Linked DNA regions of Homo sapiens: regions 1 and 2 are each linked to region 3. The links are contacts of gene promoters, found by promoter capture Hi-C in human tissues and cell types (Jung and others, 2019). All regions are on one chromosome and are shown on one strand. The core of a region is centred on a gene start or on the middle of the fragment in contact, and the rest is flanking DNA. Distances in the headings are between cores, read along the strand shown.

Region 1 (2,700 bases), core at 115-2,614, 300 kb before region 3:
CTAGTTTGCATTCCCACCAACAGTGTATAAGCATTTCCTTGTCTTCACAACCTCTGTAACACCTGTTATTTTTTGACATTTTAGTAATAGCCATTCTCACTGGTGTGAGATGGCATCTCATTGTGGTTTTGATTTGTATCTCTCTGGTGTTTAGTCATGCTGAGTACTTTTTCTTAAGTTTAGCTGCTTGTTATCATCTTTTGAGAAATGTCTTTTATTGTCCTTTGCCACTTTTTAATGAGGTTGTTTCCTTTTTTCTTGTTGATTCATTTAAATCCCTTATAGATTCTGGATATTAGTCCTTTGTCAGATGCATAGTTTGCAAATATTTTCTCCCATTCTGTTGGTTATCTGTTTATTCTTGTCAAGAGTTTCTTCTGTTGTGCAGAAGCTCTCTTTGGTTTAATTGTGCCATTTCTCTATTTTTGGTTTTGTTGCATTTGTTTTTAGGGTTTCATCATAAATGTTTGCCTAGACCAATGTCTAAAAGAGTATTTCCTAGCTTTTCTCCCAGAGTTTTTATAGTTTGAGGTCTTACTTTTAAGTTTTTAATGCATCTTGAGTTAATTTTTATGTGTGGTAAGAGGTAGTGGTCCGGTTTCATTCTTCTGCATATGGTTAGCCAGTTTTCACAACACCATTGATTGAACAGGGTGTCCTTTCTCCATTGTTTATTTCTGCTAACTTTGTCAAAGATGAGTTGGTTGTAGGTATGCAACTTTATTTCAAGGATCTCTGTTCTGATCCATTGATCTGTATGTCTATTTTTGTACCATGCTGTTTTGGTAACTGTAGCCTTGAAGTATAGTTAGAAGCCCAGTAATATGATGCCTCTGGCTTTGTTCTTTTTACTTAGGATTGCCTTGGCTATTGGGGCTCTTTTTTGTTTCATTTGAATTTTAGAATAGTTTTTCCTAATTCTGTGAAAAATGATGTTTGTAATTTGATAGGAATAGCATTGAATCAGTAGATTGCTTCAGGCAGTATGGATATTTTAATGATATTCTTCCAACCCATGAGCATGGAATGCTTTTCCATTTGTTTGTGTCGTCTATGATTTCTTTCAGCAGTGTTTTGTAGTTCTCCTTATAGAGATCATTCACCTTCTTGGTATTCCTAGGTATTTAATTAATTAATTAATTATTGTGGCTATTAGGTACATTATAGTTTTTAAAATATTCTGTGTTAAAGAGAAAAAAAGTCAATGTGAGGGAAAGGATGTTGCCCAGGATGGTGGGTACAATTTTAAATATGGTTGTTATTTGAAAGATGACATTTGAACTAGGAATTGCGGGAGATGAGGAAGAGAAGCCATGTGTAAATCTAAGAGACCATATCATGCCTGAAGTGTGAGCAAGTCTGATATATTCAGGGAACAGCTGGAAGCCCACACAGCTGAAATGGCACAAGGGAGGGGAACATTGTAGAAGTTACTTAGAGATAAATTGGTGGGGACTAGCCCCTCTAGGGACTTGTAGAACTTTGTAAGACTTGAACTTTTTCTCTGAGTAAAATGGGAAGTTAACACACAGTTTTGGCTAGAGGATTCATGTTTCAAAGCTTGTCCAACTCGCTTTATTTTGTTGTTGTCATTCTGTTTTGTTTTGTTTCAGGCTTTTAGCAGCCTGAAGCCATGGTGTTTAGTTTCGTGTCTAGTGATAAGCAGAAAAGAGGGACGAGGACGGGGCTTTACTGGCCCAACCAGAAACAGAAACTAAGAACCCACGACTGTATTCTGTCCCTTGGACACCCCTGTAAGAAGTTCTGACAACTAGGAATAGACTGTGAGAAGCAAGGTGGAGTGTCAGAGACCTTTCAGAGTTAAGAGATGATAGTGGCTTGGACCTCAGTTAAGAGATGATAGTGGCTTGGACCTCAGTGTACACAGTGGAGCTGCTGAGAAGTGGTCAGATTCTGGAACTATTTTGAAGAATATGCCAGTAGAATTTGCCAGCGGGCTGGGTATGGACTGTGAGAGAAAACAAGAAATTGAGAGTGATCCCACAATTTTTGGCCTGGGCAATAGGAAGGGATTGCCATTAGCTGATAAGTGGAAGCAGCTTGGTAGAAAATGGGGCAATGAGAATTCTGTGGTTATGTTAGGTTTGAGTGGTCTGTTCCTTCATAATTGATATGCAGACACAGGGGTCTAGTAGTCTCAAGGCAGAAGGTGGAGAGTGAGGGTATGAGTGTTAGAAAGTCTAACAGTATGGGTTCAATTGGGACATAAACCACAGACTAATATAAGCAGAAGAGTTTATTATAATGAATGATTAACCTATGATGGAAGAGTACAAGAATATAGTGATAACTTTAACAGCACCCTAGGGATGAGTAAGCATACCCAAGTTCGGATAAGCTTGGAAGGGGGTCCCCTCTCTAAGACTGGGGTGCAGATTTCATTGGAGAAGGTGTGTTTGCAGCCCACTGGTTTGCCTGGGCCATAGCTGGTCACGTCTCTGGGCAAGCAAGAAAACACACTTCTGGGGGCAGGTGAACTCTAGCTAGTGGGCAGGCATGCAGGAGTTAGGATGCTACAGTGAACGTGAAGCCCAGAGTGTACAGTATCTATGTAGGGAGGGCCCAGGAAACAAACCTCAGGGCACAGGCAAGCCTTGGCTGGTGCAGGTGCACAGTGCGTGGTGTCTGCATTGGAGGCAAACTGGTCACTGAGTCTAGGTCAGGACTGCAAGGTTGCCA
Region 2 (2,700 bases), core at 17-2,516, 260 kb before region 3:
CCCAGTTGATTCTGAAGTTTACATCTTCATGAAGGAGCACTGACCTTCCGTTCAATTACCAAGCTCTGCAAATTTTACCCCCTAAATATTTCTTGTGTCTGTATCTTCCCTTGTCTGAATTTAACTCTCGCTTTTGTCAGTACATATACAGTACTTGTGAAAGGTAGTGAGGCCAGACATCAATGTTTTTACTGTTTCTATGTTTTTTGTTTGTTTTGTTTTGCTTGTTTGTTTGCCTCACTACATGGAGTGACTGGGTTTTCTCAAATTATTTTCCCAGTGTCCGGTCACTAGCTCTGTGGATATTGAGAGGCAGAGTTGGTGCACAGGGCAATGACTGATTTGATGGTGCAGACTTAACAAGTAAGGTTTGAGTCTAAAACCAAAAGTCGAGCCTGTGGTACCTACCACACAGCATAGGTCCTGACTGTGCCATATATAGCATGCCCCTGGTGGGCTGATTTTATAGTTTTTGTTCTGGGAGTCATTTTTGGAGACCAAGTGTAGAGCCCAATGTCTGTGCACTTACACCTACTTTGCAAGCATCTTGCTGCCTACATTGATCTGCTTTAAGTGGCTACAATGGTGTCTGTTTCCTAAAACTGAACCCAGAATAATGTACAAACCAGGCTTACGTGGGAAACAGTTGGATTTTAGAAGAAAGCTTTCTGATCTGATTACAGTTATTTCTTTTCCTTTGTATCTGTTATGTGACTTCCTTCCTACTTGCTGAGGCTGGTTTGTAGATGCCAATGAAACTTTCTGGAAGCTCACAGAAAAGCAGCAACTCTAAGCTGTGATTAACATTGATTGAACTTGTAGACTTGTATAAATTATTCCAATTCCCTACTCAAAAAAAAAATAGCCAGACTCTTCATGATCATGGTTCATTCCAGGGAGTGGCATGTCATGTCCTTGCTTTAATCTGACAGTGATAAACTGGTGTTTGCCCCACAACGTGCCACTCTGTGGATGGCATGGATGTATTGGAACCCATTGTCTGGTGGGAATGTCTGACATTTTTCTTTCTTTCCTCTGGCTGGGTTATTCTTTGTATTTGGAAACCTAATGCATGCTTTCTGATACTAGCCCTTCAACATGATATAAAATCTTTTTGACTCAGAGAAGTCTTTAAATTAAACAAAAGTTGAGATGATTGGAATTACTCGGTTATGCCAACAGTCTCCTAACAAATGTTTTTTAATATTTGGATTTGACTGCAATGCAAGTTTTCCAGGAACTCTATCTTTGTTCTGTTTTTAATAATGTTTCTAAATGACCCTTCAAGTTTGTGAGATTGTAGTGTTCGGTATTTTTTTTTTTTATTTACATAGTCACATACCAATTTTGAGGATGATAAGTAATAGCCAAGATGATATGTTGTGCAACTTGATGTGCTACAGTTAAGAGAAGAATGGTGTCCAGTCTTCTAAATATATTCCTTATATGTAAGCACATTGAGCATATTTATATGTGGCATTGTGTATGTACAAAATATATGAGAGTTATGAATGTAGAAACTCTAGAACGTGACATTCTATTTTTACATTTATCCAACAGGCTCTTCCTTCTTAATATAGTGAATAAGTAAAGCAACAATTACCAAGAAATAACTGTACAGGTTTTATATCACACTGAGCTTTGGAAATTTGGATGTGAGTTTTGGTGGTTTACCTCAGTGACCACTGGAGACTTAATATCCCTATTAAGGAAAGCCTTGGCCTTGATTATGGGCATCATTGAAAGCACTTTCTTTCATACAGGGTCTTAGTACTTCCTCTGCATTTCAGACACTTGACACACAGAGGTGAATAGGATAGCCCTTGGCTTCAAGGAATGCAAATTATAATCAGAAACAAAGATACACAAACAAATACATTCAATGAAATAATATAATTAACAGCTTTTTTATTTTTAAAAGAGTTTTCTAACAGCCAGCTTAGCACTTTAAGTTCAACTTCCAGTTGAGGCTGAGATAATTTAAGTAGCTAGCCCAAGATTACAGAGCTAATAGAAGAACTGGACTTGCATCCAGATCCGTTTAACCAGTGCTTTGATTCTATCCTATATCATTTGTACGTGTTCTGTAGAAAAGGGAGATGCAAAGTTGAGGGGAGATTGACCCTCTTGTCTTGAGGTAACAGTTGAACCAGACTCTGGGAATGGATAAGTAGAAGTTCAAAACTGGTCATTAAGTGGTGAGAGTATGTCTGGTGGGTGAATAGCATGGGGAAGGGTTGGAGAAATGTGCATAAGCAAGACATTTTGCAGATAAACAAGAAGCTCACTATGACAGGAAGATACAATGAAATTATTTATTCATTCCACAAAGAACTGTTGAGTGCATATTGCCTGTGGGAGATTATTCTAAGTACTGGTAATACAGCAAAGTGAGTAAATGGAGACTGTCTCATAGGAGATGAGAGTAGAGAAGAAATCTATCCTCAAAACAAGCAGACTTGTTCTGTGACTCATTAAATACCTGAACTATCAGTGGTGGACTTTTAAAAACATCTTTTTACTTTGTAATGGCACAAGTATTTGTGTGACTATATCCAGCATATTTTAAAGCAACCTCCAGACATGTCATTCCGCAGGGGGTGCACTGTAGAGAGATATTTACTCAGTATACAGTTGGGAATTCTAATATTTTGAGCTGCTTAGTAAGGAAAAAGCTGCCCAGAAGCAATAAGAATGCAC
Region 3 (2,745 bases), core at 63-2,562:
CCACATGAATACCAGCCAGCCCTTGAAGACTGCAAAGCAAGACCAATTTTTTAACTGACTTCTTGCAGTCCCCTCTGGCTTTTCCCAGGAAAGACTGAACTCATTAAGCAATGCTAATTTAATCACAAGTCATCAAGGGGTGGGGAGTTATATAACTATCTTTAAAATTTCAAATCAAACATGATAAAATCTCAGGAAATAGATTTTTTTAACAAAACCCACACCTCAAAATAAAAAAAAAAAAGAAATAGAAGTTTATGAGTTTTAGGATCAAATAAAATAAAATCAAACATCAATATTTTCTTACAACTATCACATCTACTAGATAGTTCCAATTCATGACTTTTTAATGTAGTAATATGTGAGATCCTGGAACTGAACGTGCCTGGCGTGCAGAATACAAATGCATTTTTAAACTCGTAAGACAATGTAGAAATAAGTCAGGTACACAGGAAGGATCACTGACAATCACGTTAAAAAATAACTACCTCCCTTCTCTCTTCTCCTTCAACCACAGCGTAGTGATAATAGTGATATTTCCCTCATGAGGCGGGTGCACCTTGGCCATATGCTTTAAAAAATCAAAACTCTGCCGAAGTCCGCTGTGGTTCCTATTCCTGTAGGGAGGATATTAACCTGGTAGGTAGGTGGGAGAGGTTCGTAGCCCGCTTTCTAACAATTGGATGGTGTTTGCCTCGCTATAGTCATGATTAGAATGGCGGTCACCAAGAGGTATTTATTGGTGGGATGACAACATATTGGTATTGACGTTATTTAAAAGAGAAAGAAAGAGCGATCACGGTCAAGTTTGAAGGTCCTTATGTTACACCCACGCATAATTCAATAGGTGAATAAACCTTGTGGCCCCCAGACACACGCCAACAGCTTGAATTACCCGGGGTGAAACCGGCGAGACGTCCACTCAGGGCTTTCGGTCCTGACCAGCCACGGAACAAACAACGTCAATTCATTCTAAGTGCCTGGTGAAGGTAGAAATCAGAAACCGTGTCTGTGTCACGTTAGTCGTGACAAGCTGCGTACCTGCAATGACGTGATGGAAGCCTCCTCCTCGGGTCCCTTCTCTCTCTCTCTCTCCCTCTCCCTCTGCCTTCTCTGAGTTCTCTAGTCCACAGCGGGGTCTAAGTTTGGTCTCCCGCCGCCGCTTTCAGTTCGACCGCAGCCAGACTGCAGCAGACGCCCATAAGAGAAGCGCGCCGGCTGAGGGTGCAGGAGAGGCGAGAGCGCGCCCCGCGCCGCGCGGTCCCAGGCTGGCTGCTCCTGCAGATGTGAAAGGAGCCCGGAGACTTAGCTCTGAATCCTCTCGGCGCTGCATGGGGATATTATCAGAGTCTGGGATTTCTATTGGCTCTGAACACCAAACAAATCACACCAGCCACCCCCCTTCTCTGTTTCACTCAGCGCTTGTTTCTCATCTAACCCACAAACATTGCAGCCACACCACACACTTCAGTCGCTTGCAATGTTTCTCTTTTCCTCCTTCCAGTCAGTGGATTTACAACCCTGTGGTCAGCTCTAACATTTTTTTTAGCAGACTTCCAATTCTAACCTTCTTGTTTATGTAGAGAAATTCTCCCTCCATCCCCTAAACCAGAAAAAAACAAAAAACAAAAAAAAAACACTCATTCCCTTCAGATCTTCTTCCTTTTGCTGATGGGTTTCCAATGTGAAGAATGTAGAAAGCCTGTGTGTGATATGTCTGACATTCTCATACACGTGCGCTTACACACACACACACACACACACACACACACACACCAGGCTCCTTTTGTTTGCAGTAACTGAGGCCAGTGAAATAAAAAGCAAGCTGAGCCTAATAACCTAAGTGAGAGCTTAACTAATAAAATCTTGAATGAATTCAGTGCAAAACACCCATTGCTTGAATTTGTTTTCTGTTCCAAATAGTACTTTGGTCATTATTATCCTGATTTTTGTTTATTGAATGCAGAGGTTTCTAATGCAAATCAGACTCTTCAACATCCAGAGAACATAAAACAATGACGCCAGACCAATTCTTGTGCTCCATCGGCTTGGTGCGTTATACCAGAAGCGTATTGTGACGCCTAAGTGCTTGCTCTTTTCATTATTTTTTGAACTTCTCACCACTGATCATCTCAGGACTGAGACTCCCTTAGTGTGATTCACCAGCCAAAGACGACTATTCAGACTCTGCTGATAGAGGTTCCTGGATGAAAATTTTTTATCTGTATGTGTCAATAGAGATAAACCTTTGGCCCCTTGGCAGGGAAAGGGCCCAAGAAAAATCTGAGATCTTACAAACTTGGCTGGGGAAATTCAGAATAAAATAAAGTTTCAGTGTGTCTTATAAAACAGACCCTCCCTTAGACTTTTCCCCAAAATCAATTTCACTGGTGCTTATGGAAATTTTAATGACAGTTATTCTTGACAAGAAGCCATTGCTTCTGAAATCTCTGAGCTCTGTTTTGATTTTTGACTTGAATTTTTTTTTTGCAGTGTTATCCCTTTTGTATGCTATTTGGTATTTGATATTCTAGTTCCAACTCAACTCACAGCACATTGGGTTGCAAATTCACAGGAAATAACAATTAGTTCTTGAAATATACTATCACCAAACAGACTACCTGCCTTCTTTCTTACGTGGGCACATTACAGGAATTGTGAAATGCAGCCTTATTCTCAGAATGGGCCTGCCTGAAATCAGCTGAAATTGACAAAGGAAATACAAAACAAAACCACGTTTAGCAG

Evidence for each region. The method cuts DNA at HindIII sites, captures the fragments that hold promoters and counts their contacts. A contact is called where the count stands out against the background at its distance.
Region 1: a fragment that was not itself captured here is called in contact with the fragment with the promoter of GREM2 in region 3 in 1 of the 25 tissues and cell types used here (stomach).
Region 2: a fragment that was not itself captured here is called in contact with the fragment with the promoter of GREM2 in region 3 in 1 of the 25 tissues and cell types used here (mesendoderm cells).

Annotation. Positions count from the first base shown.
Region 1 is chr1:240,306,847-240,309,546 of GRCh38, forward strand. All of the region lies in intron 8 of FMN2 (formin 2), which reads left to right. Among named protein-coding and RNA genes, the nearest start is that of FMN2, 220 kb to the left of the region's middle. The HindIII fragment of the contact is 4,341 bases long and covers 1-2,700 here.
Region 2 is chr1:240,348,643-240,351,342 of GRCh38, forward strand. All of the region lies in intron 13 of FMN2 (formin 2), which reads left to right. Among named protein-coding and RNA genes, the nearest start is that of FMN2, 260 kb to the left of the region's middle. The HindIII fragment of the contact is 9,364 bases long and covers 1-2,700 here.
Region 3 is chr1:240,610,843-240,613,587 of GRCh38, forward strand. It overlaps GREM2 (gremlin 2, DAN family BMP antagonist), which reads right to left and starts at 1,313. Exons shown (of 2, transcript NM_022469.4): 1 at 1,042-1,313. The HindIII fragment of the contact is 18,584 bases long and covers 1-2,745 here.